Regions from separate parts of the Homo sapiens genome. Here regions 1, 2, 3, 4 and 5 are each linked to region 6. Evidence: promoter capture Hi-C in 16 types of primary human blood cells and fetal thymus (Javierre and others, 2016). All regions are on one chromosome and are shown on one strand. Each heading gives the region's core, a stretch centred on a gene start or on the middle of the fragment in contact. The rest is flanking DNA. Distances are from core to core; before and after follow the strand shown.

The links. The method cuts DNA at HindIII sites, captures the fragments that hold promoters and counts their contacts. A CHiCAGO score of 5 or more calls a contact.
Region 1: a contact is called between a fragment that was not itself captured here and the fragment with the promoter of LRRC8D in region 6, in 2 of 17 cell types (total B cells and total CD8 T cells). The highest score is 5.2, in total B cells.
Region 2: a contact is called between a fragment that was not itself captured here and the fragment with the promoter of LRRC8D in region 6, in 14 of 17 cell types (megakaryocytes, erythroblasts, endothelial precursors and 11 more). The highest score is 17.1, in megakaryocytes.
Region 3: a fragment that was not itself captured here is called in contact with the fragment with the promoter of LRRC8D in region 6 in 1 of 17 cell types (total B cells); the score reaches 5.1 in total B cells.
Region 4: a contact is called between a fragment that was not itself captured here and the fragment with the promoter of LRRC8D in region 6, in 1 of 17 cell types (fetal thymus). The highest score is 5.2, in fetal thymus.
Region 5: a contact is called between a fragment that was not itself captured here and the fragment with the promoter of LRRC8D in region 6, in 17 of 17 cell types (erythroblasts, megakaryocytes, activated CD4 T cells and 14 more). The highest score is 17.4, in erythroblasts.

The regions. Positions count from the first base shown.
Region 1 is chr1:89,576,491-89,579,322 of GRCh38, forward strand. All of the region lies in intron 3 of LRRC8B (leucine rich repeat containing 8 VRAC subunit B), which reads left to right. Among named protein-coding and RNA genes, the nearest start is that of LRRC8B, 53 kb to the left of the region's middle. The HindIII fragment of the contact is 1,247 bases long and covers 891-2,137 here.
Region 2 is chr1:89,950,371-89,953,070 of GRCh38, forward strand. No RefSeq gene overlaps it. Among named protein-coding and RNA genes, the nearest start is that of ZNF326, 43 kb to the right of the region's middle. The HindIII fragment of the contact is 1,915 bases long and covers 341-2,255 here.
Region 3 is chr1:89,603,953-89,606,652 of GRCh38, forward strand. No RefSeq gene overlaps it. Among named protein-coding and RNA genes, the nearest start is that of LRRC8C-DT, 28 kb to the right of the region's middle. The HindIII fragment of the contact is 984 bases long and covers 768-1,751 here.
Region 4 is chr1:90,042,835-90,045,534 of GRCh38, forward strand. No RefSeq gene overlaps it. Among named protein-coding and RNA genes, the nearest start is that of ZNF326, 49 kb to the left of the region's middle. The HindIII fragment of the contact is 2,926 bases long and covers 1-2,700 here.
Region 5 is chr1:89,970,077-89,972,794 of GRCh38, forward strand. LOC105378847 (a long non-coding RNA gene) reads left to right here. Exons shown (of 3, transcript XR_001738142.2): 2 at 574-712. Among named protein-coding and RNA genes, the nearest start is that of ZNF326, 24 kb to the right of the region's middle. The HindIII fragment of the contact is 1,256 bases long and covers 826-2,081 here.
Region 6 is chr1:89,819,726-89,822,425 of GRCh38, forward strand. LRRC8D (leucine rich repeat containing 8 VRAC subunit D) reads left to right here and starts at 1,307. Exons shown (of 3, transcript NM_001134479.2): 1 at 1,307-1,566. LRRC8D-DT (LRRC8D divergent transcript) reads right to left here and starts at 2,069. Exons shown (of 1, transcript NR_185885.1): 1 at 449-2,069. RefSeq lists silencers at 836-895, 1,336-1,685, 1,786-1,885, 1,976-2,185, 2,057-2,276. The HindIII fragment of the contact is 10,555 bases long and covers 1-2,700 here.

The DNA of each region.
Region 1 (2,832 bases), core at 264-2,763, 240 kb before region 6:
AAGCTGAGATTGAGAATCACTGTCTTAGGTTTGTGATTCTTGAAAAGTGGTCCTTGGACCAGCAGCATCAACATGAACTAGGAATTTGTTAGCAATGCAATTCTTGAGACCTACTTCCTACCTTACAAATTGGCAACTCTGAGGGATGGACTAATCACTTCATGTTTTAATAAGCTCTTGGTGATTTTTATGTACATTAATGTTAGAGAACCACTATTAGAAAAATCTTTCTTTCTAGGTCTCAAAACTACGACTGAGTTTGGGAAGCATGTTTGTTATTTGAAAATCACTGTACTAACAAGATTTGAAAGAACTACAAAGGGACATAAGGAAACTAGTATATCAAATGTTATTGCCGGTGATCATTTAAGCACTTGAAATATGTTTAATGCTTGTCATTAAATCTCTCAAGAATGGTGAAATGAGTTACTTAGCATAAAGAAAAGGGGCATATTAATCAGAGATACTGATGCATTGTTTCCTAGAGAGAGAACTCAACAAAAGGCGAATTTAAATTTCAGTTAGATATATGTTAGTCCCAAGAAACATCTTAATGGGAAGTAGCACTAAACATTTTGAAGGGATATAAGGTGATTTTTAAATCAATTTTCAATGAGAGTAGTGTAGAGAACCGCTATTTGGAATTGTTCGGCTATAATCCCTGCCTGGGGTCAGAGACAGATCTTTGAAGTAGCGTCCTCTTCTCAGTATATAATGACACTAAATACCATCTGATCATCATTTGTTTATTTTTTCACTTGTTATTTTAGAAATGCTTTCAAAGTAAAATAAGGACTACTGGGAAGTAAAGATGCCTAACTTGAATGTTGATGTTACAGTCTTAGAGACTTTGGAGTAAGATTGTCAAGTGAATTCATGTGTTTTGAAAAAGCTTTTATGACTTCTTAATGAGGTTTAAAAGCTGAAATAATGGGATTAGAACCGTAAAATCCATTACTCTTAACATTTCTTTGGATTGATTTAGTGTGTTTGTATATTAGAAATAGATATTTTATTTGGATTGAATCATCATTGTTTACTAAAATATGGTCTGGAAACAATTTCCTGGACAGACAGTATTAAATGGCATAATGACAAAAGATAGCTATGCTTAAACTCTCTAGTTAAGCACTTCAAATAGGAAAATTATCATCATTTTATACATAGGAATGCTGAGATGTTTTATATATACTTAAATCCAGATGCTATATATTTAAATATTAAGTTTTAGTTCAGTAGAAAATATTTAGTAGGAAAATGTTTAGCTGAGAAAGTAGATTATATGTAACGGAAGACATTACAGAAAACTACATTTGCATCCTTATTCAAACCCAGTTATAATGCAGTTATAACCCAGTTATAATGCAGATATTGGATGAGTTGGGAAAGAGCGCTAATTAGCTTTTTCTTCAGCTTTTGAGAGACCTAAGACTGTGGCGTAGTTAATTGGATTGACTGAGGCCATGTGGTCTGGTGTGCATGAGGTTGGGATTTGAGTATGAGGACCTAAGTTCCAGTTGCAACTTTATTTCTTAGAGGTTTTGTCACCTTGGGCAAGGTTAATTCTTTGGGACTGCCTTAATTTCTATGCATATAAACATAAAGAGTAATACTATTTATTTCAATGGCTTGTTTTAAGTATAAAACAAATTAATGTAAATGAGACATGCTTTGAAGGTAGAAAAACAGATGTTAAATTATTAATAAAGTAGAAAGTATATTTCTAATATTTAAGGAGAACTGTATAAGAAGAATCATGGCTGAGTAACATTTTTGAATTATGCAATAAATTCTTTTCTGGCATGTTACAAATGCAGCCGCTATGGAAGAATATGTAAAATGTTTCACACATCAGATGTCTTTATCATGCTCAGTGCACATAAATGCAGTCATGTGATATATGTTGTAAGACTTTTATAAAGGCTTGTGAATTGTGAATGAGAAATCTTACTCCAGTTGTGCCCTGTAGTTATGAATTAGTGTACAGCTAGGTTCTTATACATACTAACTGTGCTTTCTAACCTGCAAAACAATTTGATGCTGGATGGTGACTAATTGTAAAATAGGCTTTGCACATGACTTGGTAAACCCAAAGTAAGTTTTGGACATGCCCAAATTTTTGATATTTGAAATGACAAGCTTAAAAGATTATTGCTAAAAGTATCTTAAATACAATTTGGGGTCAGTACTCTTAGGAAGATTTGAAGTACTTTTTAAAAAGGATTGTATAATACAAAATCTCCCTAGAAACTTTTTTTTTGAGGTTTCATAGGCACTAAAAGATATAATTTTTACTTTCAATTAAAAACAAATTCTAGCATTTTACAATTTTCTCACAGTTCAAATTATCAATATATATGTAATTTAACTATCACAAATTATTGAACTATAAATGTTACAAATGGCTTTTATTAAACTCTAAATTAAACAAATCTAATATAAAGCCTAAGTATGTTTAATAATAACATAATTTCAAGTAATTTCAGCCATATTTCTGAGCTGTATCTGAAAAAGTATATTAACTTATCACTTTTTCTAATGAGATTGGTAGGCTAAATTTTAGGAGCACTGAGACTTATTTGGATAGATGTTTGGTTTTAAATATGGGTACAGAAATCACTTGGTGTGACAAGCTGTCTGAAAAATGCAAATAAGAACGACTGTGTTTGAGGAATGAGTGAGAGAAATTAACATATGTCGACTACTTAGAAAAGCTGTGTTCATCTAAGTGTTGTAGACACAGAATTTTAAAATATGTTGTGTTTAAATTGCTGTGGGAACTAACCTGTAATTGAAAGGAAGTTCAGGGAGTGAGTATGGTTTAATGAATGT
Region 2 (2,700 bases), core at 48-2,547, 130 kb after region 6:
TCAATGATCCAGAGTCATCAAGACACAAAAAGGCAAAGGTGTCAGGACCTTTCTTTATGGACCTTGTCCCTGGATTGTGTTGCACTGTTTGCATAAAGTTAAACTTTAAATTTGCATATCTAACCTGTGGTTACCAAGTTGTTCTGGTCTGGATAATCCTTGGTTTCAGCCTGGAGCAAGCAGAGAACAATCTCCTCTCAAACTTTGTGCTGCTATTCCACCTTGAGAAGGTTTGGTTAACAAGTCAATCTTAATATTAAAGAAAAGTGATACCAGACTGGAGAAAATACTCAACACAGTACATTCCGAATGTACTTTGATAATTTTGGAGGTGGTTAGAAGCTTTGGTCCCTTTAAAGAAAGCCCCTTGGGACAGCTTGCAGACTATAGCTAGAAGCAAGTTAGAGGTTAGAGAAGTCAGTTTCTTTCTTTAAAAAAAAATTTTTTTTTAAGAGACAAGGTCTTGCTGTGTTGCCCAGGCTGGAGTGCAGTGTGCAATCATAGCTCATTGCTGCCTCAAACTCCTACCCTCAAGGGATCCTCCCACCTCAGCTTCCCCAATAGCTAGAACTATAGGCAGGCAACAGCATGTCGAGGGGCTAATTTTTTTTTTTTTTTTTTTTTTTTTTTTGTAGAGACAGGGCCTTGCTATGTTGCTCAGACTGGTCTCAAACTCCTGGCCTCAAGCGATCCTTCTGCCTCTGCCTCCCAAAGCTCTGGGATTATAGGTGTGTGTTACCGCACCAAGCCAAATAAGCCATTTTCTAAAATAAAAAGTTTTATCCTTTCTCCCTCATTCTTTCTCTTGTCACAGTGTTTTTAATTGGTTACCAAATAGCATTCTAAATAAAAAAAAATTTTTTTAATTATTAGCATACATTTTACCACTTATCTGTATATTATACAATGTTCTTTTAAAATGCAAATATGGCCAGGCAGGGTGGCTCACGCCTGTAATCCCAGCACTTTGGGAGGCTGAGGCGGGCGGATCACAAGGTTGGGAGTTCGAGACCAGCCTGGCCAACATGGTGAGACCCCCCCATCTCTACTAAAAATACAAAAAAAATTAGCCGGGCATGATGGCAGGCGCCTGTAGTCCCAGCTACTTGGGAGGCTGAGGCAGGAGAATCGCTGGAACCTGGGAGGTTCAAGTGAAGGTGAGAAAGAGAAATCAAGAATGTCAACTAGATTTATGTTTTGATCAACACATACCAGGTGACACCATTTCCTGAGAGGTAAAACAGCAACAACAAAAATAACAACTTGTATTTCAGACAAATAGAAAATTATGAAGAATAACTTAACTTCTAAAACATTCATTTGTATGTATGCTGATGCAAATTTCATTTAGAATCTGACGTTAAAATGAAGAGAGAAGGGCAAATGCATCTAAGACTTTAGAATATTTTTGGTAATAATGTGTTAGGTAAGAAAAGAATATCTGGATAAGCGATGTAACTACTCTGGCAAATGATGTTTTACATTATAATGCAAGTTAAATAGACTATTTTGCCTATGCCTGGAATTTTCCAGTGGAGGTAGATGATTTCTTAGAACAGGGATGAGTGGAAAGTTAGGGTATTTCTGAAGACCCACTAGTGAAATAGCAGTGTTTCTCCCTCAGAGATTGTTCCCTTTTTGATTCCTATGACTAATTCTGTCATTTGCAGGAGTTTAAGAAAAAGTTACATTTTTTTTCCAGCTATGTCTCTAACACATTTTTCTGGCACTGTTTATAAGCTCAAATTTCCAGTTGAAAGGATGGTTAAGATTGAATTACTCTTCAAATTCCTTTTTCCTTTCACAGTTGTTTTTCCTTGACGAAGTCTCTTTGTCACTATCAAGGTTAAGTGAAGTCACTATTGAAGGAAAGAACAGAAGGAATTTGGAATGCTTTTCCATTAACTTCTGAACCACAGTGACTTATTCCTTGAGAATCTCCAGTAAGGCTTAGGGTCTTTCGGATAAGTCATTTTGGAGAAATGTTTTCTTCTTTTGCTGTTAGGTTGACATGGCAAAAGAAATAATATTATTTGTGTTAACCTTTGTCCTAGTATGTTATTGCTCAAAGCAAGGTTGTAGATACCATGAGAATTATGCCTAAATGATACAAAATTGCATTTTCACCACCCAGTACTGCACATGGCAGATATTTGGTAGGCATTAGTTGAATTACAAATTCCAAGAATCTGCTAGAAATCGTAGATTGGTTCCTTTCATCTTGCAGATAGCGTGATGGAAGAAGAGGAGTTGAAAGCTTTTAGCTCCTAGGCAAAAAGTCACATGTTGTTTAGAAATCTCACTATTTCCTCTGAAATTGAAGGCATCATATTTTTAAGGACATTTTGTAGAGCAAGGCCCTGAATCTGAAACCACCTTTGCAGAGATTATGATAGCGAGACCAGTCTAGCATGGCTGACTCCATCTTGCTTCTAGCCTCACAGCCTGGCTGTCTTTCCTCATTGCTGGGCATAGACCAAGCTAACCATGGGAGGAATTTAGTCATATAGTCATAGTTTACCTTTTTTTTTTTTTTTTTAACTAAATAGGGATGAGGTCTTGCTATGTTGACCAGGCTGGTCTCAAACTGCTGGTCTCAAGCCATACTCCCATCTCGGCCTCCCAAAGTGCTTGAGATTACAGGCATGAGCCACCACTCCCAGCCTATAGTTTAACTTTAAAGCAAGATGATAATAGTCC
Region 3 (2,700 bases), core at 10-2,509, 220 kb before region 6:
TTTATTCACTAAAGAACCTCAAGCATAATAGCAAGTGAAGGAGGATGGAATTATCTTAAAGGGCTGTTCTGCAGTGCCTCCCCGTCAGGAGAGCCAAGTAGACAGTGAAGAGAAGCTATTTAGGGCAGTACAGTTAGAAACATTCCCAGCAGGGCCTTCACAATGCTCAGGTTACAATTCCCAGTTAAGAGAAATGTCCTGAGGTTGCACAGGTATAAAGGTGACCTGTGAGGTACTTGGCTGTCTTGGGCTTTAACACCAAAATTTGAAAGCTGAGGCTGACCCTTTATCACTGGCTTTCCTCCCAGAGTCTGACCTAGGGCAAATAGATGCCTGACAGTTTTAAGTTCTCCAGTTTCTGTTCAGCTGAGACCTGAGTGTCAGGTCAGCTAACAGGCTCCCCGTTGGAGAAACATGACTCTAGGTTTCAGTGCACTGAGAGATGTTAACTTCTGCCTGGTCTTAGGGTACAGCCCCACCTGGGTGCCAGCTCCAAGGGCAGACTATGCGCTCACCAGGTTCATCTGATAATGCAGTGGGCAGACATAGCTATGTGCTGTTCACTTGCTCTGTGCCCTCATGCCCAGTCTAAGACTGTCCAAGGCCCGGCCTAGTCTCTGCTTTATCTGGAAGAAGACAAGAGCATTTTCCTGGACTGACAGCCCAGAAGGTACTCATCTCCAACCTGGATCAGAGCCCTATTTTCACCAGTAACTCTTGAGTCATCTTGTACCTCTGAGCCTCAGCTTCCTCGTCTGTAAAATGTAAGCTTTATTTTATAAATATTGAGTGTCTGCTACTTACCCAGATGCTGCCTAAGGTATTGTGAATACAGTGGGGGACAGCAGGGACAAATAAGACCCACTCCTCATAGAAACAAACCTCATAAGATCTTAAGAGGATTCCACGAGATAATATGTGTAAAATGTTAGCATCTTGTCTGACCCTAGTGGTTGCTTTCTACGTTAGCTTTAATGAGTTTTCCTCCAAAGATGATAGAAAATATTTCAAAGTATGTCCTTTCCTGCCTTGGTCTGTGCACATGCATTTCTGCCAAAAAGGCTCTTCCTTAATTCCTATGCCTAGCTAACTCCTGTTCATCCAGTTCTCAGTATAAATGGTCACTTCTTCAAGGTGGCATTTTTCTGACCAGTCCATCCTTAGATCCCCCTGTTGTTTGTTCCCAGGGCAACTGGTACTATACTTTGAGGTATCCATCCTCTTGATAACTATGACTTATTTAGTGTCTGTTTCCCTGACTAGACTGTAAAGCTAGTGTAAACAGCATCCATGTTCACCAGAAATCTTGATGCTGAGCTTTGAGATTCTGCATAAACATCTGACCATCTTGCTGATATTTGAAGGGAATGTTCCCTTTCACATGAGAAAATTACATTGGACCAGAAAAGAAGAATCTGGCCCACCAGGAGCACATGGGTCCTTTCTTCCCTCTTTTCTCTCTCCTACCATGAAGAGGAGGGACGGCCAAGAAATGGCTGAAGAAAGGCCATTCCCAGGGCTGTACCCACATCTCTTAGAAGTAGCAGGTAGTCAGGGAACATAGGATGGAGAGTTGGGTTCCCCATTGTTCACAGGAACTTACCCAGTACCCATTCAAGGACCTACTGGGAATGGGGCAGTAAGGGTCTTCTTTGATACCATCTGCCACAGCCACACCCTTGTCCGTTCTCACCACAGCCAGGCAGCATGACTTAAAGGAGGTCTTGTTTCTTGTAACTATAGATAGTAGAAGCTTGATAAAATGAAATCTAAGGTCATAAGACTGGAATGGTGTCAGCCGCAGAAACGTCTCTGTCACCTTGTGTGAAAGATGCCCCCAGCCTCAGTACCTTTTGGAAGAGACCTTGGCAAAAATACAGCTGTTTACATGTGACTCACCAGAAATGTGAATGTTCTTGCCCTTTTGTGCCCTGTGGGATTTAACAAAGCAGCAATGTGACCTGACCCCAGTGGTTTTCTTTTGGCCAGAATCCAAGTCCTCCAGGCAGTGCTGGACTTCCCACATGCATTCCTGCCAGCCCACTATATGGAACTACAGGGCAGTCCTCTCTGCCAAGCCTTTCTAACCTCTATGTCTTTGTCCAGGCTGTTCCCTCAACCAGAAGTTCCTTTTTTCCATACATACACATATGAATAAACCTCAATTCATTCTTCAAGACTAAGATGATATCACTCTATAACTCCTCTAATCACCCTCTTTCCCCAAATTGGAGTTAGTTATTCTGAACCCTTATACCAATGTAGTGAGGTTATGGATTTCCCGCTCAGTCATCTGAAGGCAGAAACCAAATCTCGTTCATATTTGTGTCCCCTTCCACTAATATAGTATCTGCACCTATAATTTGTTACAGTATTCTACACTGTAGGTGCATAATGAATAAATAGCTGAAAGCTGGGCATTTGCAAGGTGTGTGCTGGCCAGTGGGTCAGCCAGGATGCCTAAGGGCAAAGGCACATGCCAGAAACCACTAATGGAGACTTTTGTGGACAAATTGTTGAAACAGTGAGAAGTTGTTAAATCCTTGTGGGTAAGAAAATGGCATAAGGAAGTAGTACTTTGGATACAGTCTTTGAGGGCATGGGTACAATGATGTTAAAGGAAGAAAACTGACATTTATTCTATAGATGGGGGAACTGAGGCTTGGGGAAGTTAAGTGATTTGCCAAAAGACACACAGCT
Region 4 (2,700 bases), core at 155-2,654, 220 kb after region 6:
TGTCTTTCTAATCTCTTGCCACTCTTCCCCTTACCCATTATGCCACAGGTACACTGGCCTTTTTACTCCTCTGATATACAACACTTGTTTCTGTCTTTTAGCCATTGTGGTTATTGTTTTCTTTGCCCAGAATGCTCTTTTCCCAAACCTTTGCATAACTGGTTCCCTTTCATCATTCAGCTATGTTAAATTGCAGCTTCCTCAGAGAGGACTTCTCATATAGTCATTCTCTATCCCATCACTCTGTTACCACTCACCACTATCTAAAATTATTTTATTTATTTGCTTATCACATGTCTCCTTCACTGGAATGTAAGCCCCATGAGAACAATAATTTTGTCGTTTAATTCGGCACTGGTACCTCAGCACTTAGAATGGCAGGCACTCAATGAACACAACCAAGGTTTTCTCAATGGGTCGTTACAGCTTTTTCCCTCAGGATTAGTTTCACAATGACTCTTAATTTGAATCCCTTCTAGATGTGTAAGACTCTTCCTATATGATGTTTTGATAAGATATTTGACTTTTATGCACTGAAGAGTCTTTGAATAACAGAGCTACATTATCTTTTAAAAATGTTCTCTTACATATACCCTAAACTACCTTGAGAGCTTGAGAATCATCTTGGTTGTATTTGGCTGCAAGCAACAAAAGTCTATGTATGTTGGCTTAAAGAAACAGGGTTTACTTTTCTCACGTAACAAGAAGTCTGGAGTTAGATGACTATTTGTATCGGATCAGCTGCTCAGTGTTGTCTGAGTCAGCGTCTCAATTTTTTTGGCCTTCCCCACAAAATCTCAAGATGCAGTTGCAACTCCAGGTAATGTATCTACATTAAAGATAGAAAGAAGGGATAGTAGGGAAGGTTGTCCCTAGACCTATCTGTCTCCTTTATCAGGAAAGCAAATATTTTCCTGGGAATTCTCTAACAGACCTTTGCCTCTGTCTCTTTGATTAGAACTGGGTCACATGGCCATTCCTATCTGTCTATAGTAAAAGATGGGAAGAAAGAAAGGGGTTGGGAATTACTGTCGTGTCAGTTTTCCAACGGAATCTGTCAGAGAAGCTGAAGAAGCAAGCATACCACTGGAATAGCAACACGCTCTGGGAAATAGTATCAACATGCTATGATTCAAAGGAAGACAACAGAAATAAATAATGATAGCTTCAAATTGTTGAACATGAATGTACCATGATTGCATTAGTTGCCTTGCATTTAGTATGTTACTTAGTGCTCACCCAAACTCAGATAAGGAAACTGAGGCTCAGAGAGGTGAAGTAACTTCCAGTCCCACCCCAGCTCACACAGCTGGTAAGGAGCAGTGGCGGAATTCATGCCTGGTTCTGATTCCAGTGACTGAGCACTTAACTCTTTTCTGAGTACACTTAAAATGGCTAATAATTTTTAAAACCAGGGAATCCATAAAATTAGACCCAGAAGTTAATCAGTTGCCGAGCGCGGTGGCTCACGCCTGTAATCCCAGCACTTTGAGAGGCCAAAGCAGGCAGATCACTTGAGGTCAGGAGTTTGAGACCAGCCTGGCCAACATGGTGAAACCTCATCTCTACTGAAAATACAAAAATCAGCCGAATGTGATGGCCGTGCCTGTAATCCCAGCTACTTGACAGGCTGAGGTGCGAGAATTGCTTGAACCCAGGAGGCGCAGGTTGCTGTGAGCTGAGATCACACCACTGCACTCCAGCCTGTGCAACAGAGTGAGACTGTCTCGAAAAAGAAAAAAAAAAAGTTAATCAGTTACTTTTGCTTGGGAAGTGAGTAATGACCCTGAAGCTCATCTATCTAGTAACATTTAACACATGTATTAATTTATTCAAATATGTATTAAAACACATGCAGTGTATTCTGCTAGATATTATGTATGAGAGGGGCATAAAATGAATGAAATACACATAAATGTAAAATTTCATACTGCATTTATGAAATTTTCAGTCTGGAAGGAAAAGTAAGACTTGCACAGAAAGAGAATACAAATTGGAAAGTGGCAGATATTAGACTGTTAGATCCACGAGGATAGGGATTATGTCTGTTTTGGTTTGCCCCAATTTTGCCCTTACCAGGCATATTCCTGTACACAGCAGAAATTGAGCACATATTTGTTCATTTGAACAAAAGAAAGGAACAGATAGAATGTGATTAGACTTCAGAGAAGGAAAGATATATTCCAATGGAAGGAATTAGGCAAGGCTTTGCAATGGAAGTGGTATTTAACCTAGGACTTGAATGATGCAAATGATTTGGAGCTAAAGAACTGAAGATGATGGGAGTGGTAGAAGAACAGCATTCACGGAAGAAGTATCAGCAGGAGCAAGGCACAGAAGAAAATCATGCACTGTCTCTAGGGAACAATATGTGCCTTATATGCAGGTCACTTGAATGCAGTAGAAGAATCAGTGGGTGGCAGGTCATGGAGAGCCTTGGATGCTAGCCTAGAGGGTTTGGATTTTTGTCTGAGGCATGAGGGAGACAATGGGGTGAAATGAGCAGAGCTGTACTTCAGGAGGATGAACCTGCCAGCAATTTTAAGATGTATTGGAATGAAGACAAGCTGGTATGAGGTGGAGAGTGCAGTTAGAAGGCTAGTGTAACATTCCAGACAGAAAAGGTGACGCCCCAAGGAAGGCCTAAACATGGGTAGCTGGAGAGGAGGCAACAGGTTTAAAAGATGTGCATAGAAGAAG
Region 5 (2,718 bases), core at 204-2,703, 150 kb after region 6:
CTTACTGTAAAACGAGGATGATGTTAACGCATCTGTCTCACTGAGTTAATGTAAAGAATACAATGGACTAATGTCACTAATTCTTTGCACAACACACAGTAGATGTCTAAAATATTTTATTTATCATTCTTCCCAGGCCTACCCAGCTCTACCCTTCCCAGTAGTAACTCGTGAATCAAAATGATTCATTTCTCATTCCTTGACCTCCTCTCTCACCTGGGCCGCTGGTTTCTTATGGCTTATAGGAAAGCATTCCACTCAATGAAGCAATTCATATTGAGGTGTGAGTTGCTAATAGACCACCCTCTTAGCAGGCTGTAGGTATTTTAAAACTTATTACCCTCCACCAGAAGATTATGTATGAGATATTTTTTGAATTGAAGAGAGAATAGGAGTATATTTTCCAATGCCCCCTGTTATGGGCTACATTGTGACACCCCCAAATTTATATGTTGAAGCCCCAAACCCCAGTACCTTAGGAATTATTTGAAGATAGAGTCTTTAAAGAGACAAGGCTAAAGGAGGTCATTGGGGTAGGCCCTAATCCAAAATGTCTTGTGTCCTTATCAAAAGAGATTAGGACGCAGACACACACAGAGGGAAGACCATGTAAAGACAGAGAGAAGATGGCCATCTATAAGCCAAGAAGAGAGGCCCCAGAAGAAATGAACGCTGCTAATACCTTGATCCAGGGCTTCTTGCCTCCAGAATGGTGAGAAAATAGATTTCTGTTGTTTAAGCTACCCAGTCTGTGGTACTTGGTTATGACAGCCCTAGAAAATGAAAATGGTCCCTTATTTTTGTCACATACCTTTTGTAGATTAAAGCTTCTGGGACCAGATTCCAGATTAGTTCTCTGAATTCTCTGTTCTGCTTTTTCATTCCATGGCAAACCCCAGAACTTCAGTCTGTGGGTTCACCATGGGGAACATGCATGGCATTTAATCATCATGGTACTTATGGTGGTGGTTATGATTGATTGCAGATTGGGAATCCGAGTGTCAGGGAGGTTATATATCTTGTCTAAAGCAATCATTTATTCAACAAGTATTTATTGAACATCTATACGATATTTATATAGCAGGCACTATGAGAGATGCTGGAGTCACATCAAACTGACTTTGCCCTGCCCTCATAGAGCTAAAGGATTAGTAAGAAAAACAGATTTTAAATAAGTAATTATGTAATTATAATAAGTATCTGTGAATGTGATGACTTATGAAGGAGCATAACATTTTAGTAGGAGAGCCAAATCAGCTTAGCTCCACCCAAAACAAATTTAGTGAGCACCTATTATATGCCAAACATTGTGCTAAGTGTTTGAGAAATATCAGGGAACATGACAGATATGGACTCTTCCCTCATAGAACTTCCATGTCTAAAAGGAAAAGAAGACATCAAACAAGGCGTACAAATGAAAGAGAGATGTTACAAGGCTTAACTTCAAGATTATGTGTGAGCATTTGGCAAAGGCATATAATTTAGCATAAGAAGTCCAGGTAGGCCTCCTGGAAGAATCACTGTGCATACTGTGACCTGAAGAATCAGGTAGCTGTGAGCCTGACAGAGGTGTTGGAAGCCTTCTTCAGTGAGGTCATCTCCTGTTTAGACAGTGCTTTCCTCCCTGTACATTTTCTCTGAAGGCATCTTTGCTCTGCCTGCCCATAAACATGTTACTCAGCTAGAATACTGAACACTAACCAGAGAGCTATTTCAGTACTGTCTTGTCTAGAATGGGACTTTACCTTTTAGGGCATAAGCCTGAGAGCTTCCCACCTCAGAGGGTGACTTTAGATTGCTTCCTCTCCCTTACTATTCTGTTTGTGGCAGACGCTGGGGGTTGGCTTATCCAAAACCTTTTTCCTTATTGCCCTCTACTATAGAAGCCAGAAAGCCAGAATATTTATCTCCTGACTTAAATGTTGTGAGAGGCTACTAAGTCTGTCAATCTTAGGTGTTTTTGTTTGTTTTTCCCTTTTGTTTTTATTTGCAAAATATGCCCCCAATTGATTCATTCATTGTCCTACCTCTCTGGTAACAACAACAACAAAAAAAACCAGAGGCTTGAACCACTATACCTAAGCTTTGAAAGAATCCAGATACTTTCTTAATTCTGTTTCATGTCAGGATATTCCTGGTTGGAAAGCTCTTGGCATTACAACAAATTCAAGCTGAATCATATTTGTTTAGACTATTATATTCAGGATTGCAGAGCCAGCTGCCTTTTGAAGTGCTTTGATTTAGATACCTGGGGCCCTCATATTTAATGCTTCTTGTTAAAACAGGTAAAAGTATTTGGGAATATGGCCCCTCCCAAAAGTTTGAACACAATAAAAAATGATGCAGATTATCTTTTAAAAAGTATAGATAGCCAAGCATGGTGGCTCACATTTGTAATCCCAGCACTTTGAAAGGCTGAGGCAGGCTGATCACCAGGAGTTTGAGACCAGCCTGGGCAACATAGCGAAACATCATCTCTACAAAGAATACAAAGATTAGCTAGGCATGGTAGTGCACACCTGTAGTCCCAGCTACCCCGGGGCAGGCTGCGGTGGGAGGATCTATTGAGTCCAGGAGGTTGAGGCTGAAGTGAGCTGAGATCACGCCACTGCACTCCAGCCGGGATGAAAGAGTGAGACCCTGTCTCCAAAAAGAAAAAAAGTATAGCTAAAGGAAAAATGGAAAAGGGAAAAATGAAGAGAGGAAAAAAAGGCAAAG
Region 6 (2,700 bases), core at 57-2,556:
TGGCTGCTGGCAAGGAGGGTCGGGGAAGGAAAGTGAGAGCAAAAGGGCCGAGGGCTCAGAATCTGGTGGCATCTTGTAACGGGTCTCGGGCAGTCCCTTGAGTGTATTCTGGACCTCTCTGTTCATGTTCCTGTTTGGGCTGCTCTTCTTCACGTCCAATGCCTGAGGGCCAAGTGCTCACCATCCAAGGGTCAATTCTATCAGCTCCTCTCTGAATCCTTTTCTGAAACCCTGGACAATCATTCTCTTTAATGTCTCACTGTCTCTGAACCGACACCTTCCTGAGTACCTGTAACATTTGTGCAGCATGCTTATTAAGAATATTTAGATGCTGGGTAAACGTTGATTGAACATTTGCTGACATGGAGAGATATTGGTAGAAGACAGATTAGACTTCCGATGGTTTACAGAAACACATGGATTCAGATAAAAGAAGATATGAAAGCACTGGGTTGAACCACATATTTTATTACAACCAAATAACTCCAAATATCCCGCCTTAATTTATTTATTGGCCCCTGCCTCTGCTCACCCACAAAAAAGACTGCAAATGAACCCCGATCCTACAACAACAACAACAAAAAACGGTGACATTATCGGGCTGCAAAACCCTCTTAGCATAGAATAATCTTTTCATCTGCCTCTTTCAGATGTAACATATTTTTGACGAAAAGAATGGGATGAAAACGGCGGGCTCAGATAAAAACAAGAACCGACTTTCCAATACAGCTTCAATAACAGACGGAACACATGAAGCTGAGAAACTCTCCATGCCAAGTAGTAGTTGTGTGTGCCCCAAAGCTCAGATAAGTACTTCTCCTTAGAGTTGGAAGGCACTTAAGTGACTTTTTAACGTAATTCAACTCCCCACCCCCAGCGCCAAGTCTTAATATCAGAGTTTTAGTCGACGGGACAGCCTCCTTCGCCCAGGACGGGTGAAGGCTCCTGACCATGCCTCGCAGCTAACTGGCAGCTGCGCCTGCCCGGCACCGAGCCCTGCCCAGGTGGACGCTTGCGAGAGCATTACGGCGATGGTTATGTAGGCTGCCGTTCTTCCCCTCCCAAGCACCTGCTCCGCATCTAGCAGTCGCTCGCCGCCAGTCTCCAACCCCGGGTCCCCTCCCTCGCCACACAGACCCCGTCCGGTCAGGCGCTGCAGGGCCACCGGAGAAAGCGCTCGCAATCACATGGAGGCCCGGGCCCGCCCCATTGGCTGCGGCCGGGCCAGTCGCGGCACTCGCCGGCTGCGGTTGGTCCCAGAGCTGCAGCGCCTGCACGGGCCCGGAGTCCATGTTACGCTTTGTCTAATTCCCCTCGTTACAGAGTCATGTGCTGCTGCTCCCGTCGCCGCTGCTGCCGCTGCCGCTGCCGCCGCCCGTGGTGCCCCGGCTCCTCCGCCGCGCTTCGAGGTGGCAGCCGCGGGCGGGGCCGCGGGAGCAGGGTCCAGGGTGCAGCGCGCCTTCGCCGCCCCGGCGCGTCCCGGTGCAGCCGCCGCCCGCCGCGGGTGATGCCGCCACCTCCGGCCTCAGCATAAGCCGTGGCTTGGCGGCCGAGCTGCACCCCAAGGTTGGTGCGCACCTCTCCCGGCAGGGGCCGGGGGCTGCGAGGGAAGGCGACGCGCAGGTGGAGCCGCGCCGAGCCGGAGCGCGCAACCCTGGCGCAGGCGCCGCGGCCCGAGCTGCGGTTGCGGCCGGGAACTCATTCGGGGACGTCCGGGGGTCGGGAGGAGGTGGCGGCGAGCGGAGTGGGCTCCCGTTTGCTGCCGCCAGGGCCTGGGAGATTGTTCCGCTTTCTGCAGTCTGAGCGTCGGCCGCTTCGGCCCCGGGCGGCCGGCCCTGCGGGAGGGGAGTGCGGCTTCCTGGCTCCTGAACCCCTCGCGCGCGCTCCCTTCTCTCACCTCCCTCCGCCCTATCGGAAAGGCGGGGAGAGCCGGTTTCGGCTCTGCTGGTTCCTCCCGGAGGTGGGTGTTTGGTGTCTGGCCTTGCTGGCCCGGCGTCCAAAGGTGAGCCCTTTAACTTCTCCAGAATCGCCTCCCCTCCGCTTCCTTCCTGTGCAGGGTGGGCTGCGCTGGGAGCCCGGCGGGCGGGGGCGGGGAGGTGAAGGCCCGCGCCCCGCCCCCCGCGCCTGTGGGAGGGAGCTGGGGGCCCGCAGGTGCACCCAGCCGTCCGCGGGCCGTCTCCGGGTTGGGTACCGGTATAATCCGCTTCTAGCTTGTTTGGAGGCGTGGGCTCTTGGGAGCGGGACTTCTGCTCAAATCCTGTCCAGGGGCTTGAAAAGGAGGAGAATTGGGGGTGGTTGCCGGGAGGACCAGCACCTCCAGTTACTGGAGGGTTGATAGGGGCCTTCTCCTTTCCGTCACCCTTTACTAGGGGGTATCCCTTGCAGATAAATGAGATTTTTTGATTTCTTAAAAAGCCAGCTGCAGTGAAGAAGAACTGCTGCAGGTCGAGGGGAAGAGAGGTAGGTCCTTGCTGGAGAGGGAGAGGTGGGCTGTGAGGTTCCAGGAGCACGCACTTGGGGTGTGTGTGGCCGAAAGTATGGAGGTAGGGTTGTGGGAAGGAAACAGCCGAGATGAGAGGGAGGGCGCACTCAGGATGTAGGCGGAGAGATGGGGAATAGGTACTGGGGAGTCCTAGCGGAATGTGGGGCCCAGCTGGAGCCGCTTGGCTTATATTTGGCTCCTCGTTGCCTCGCAGATTT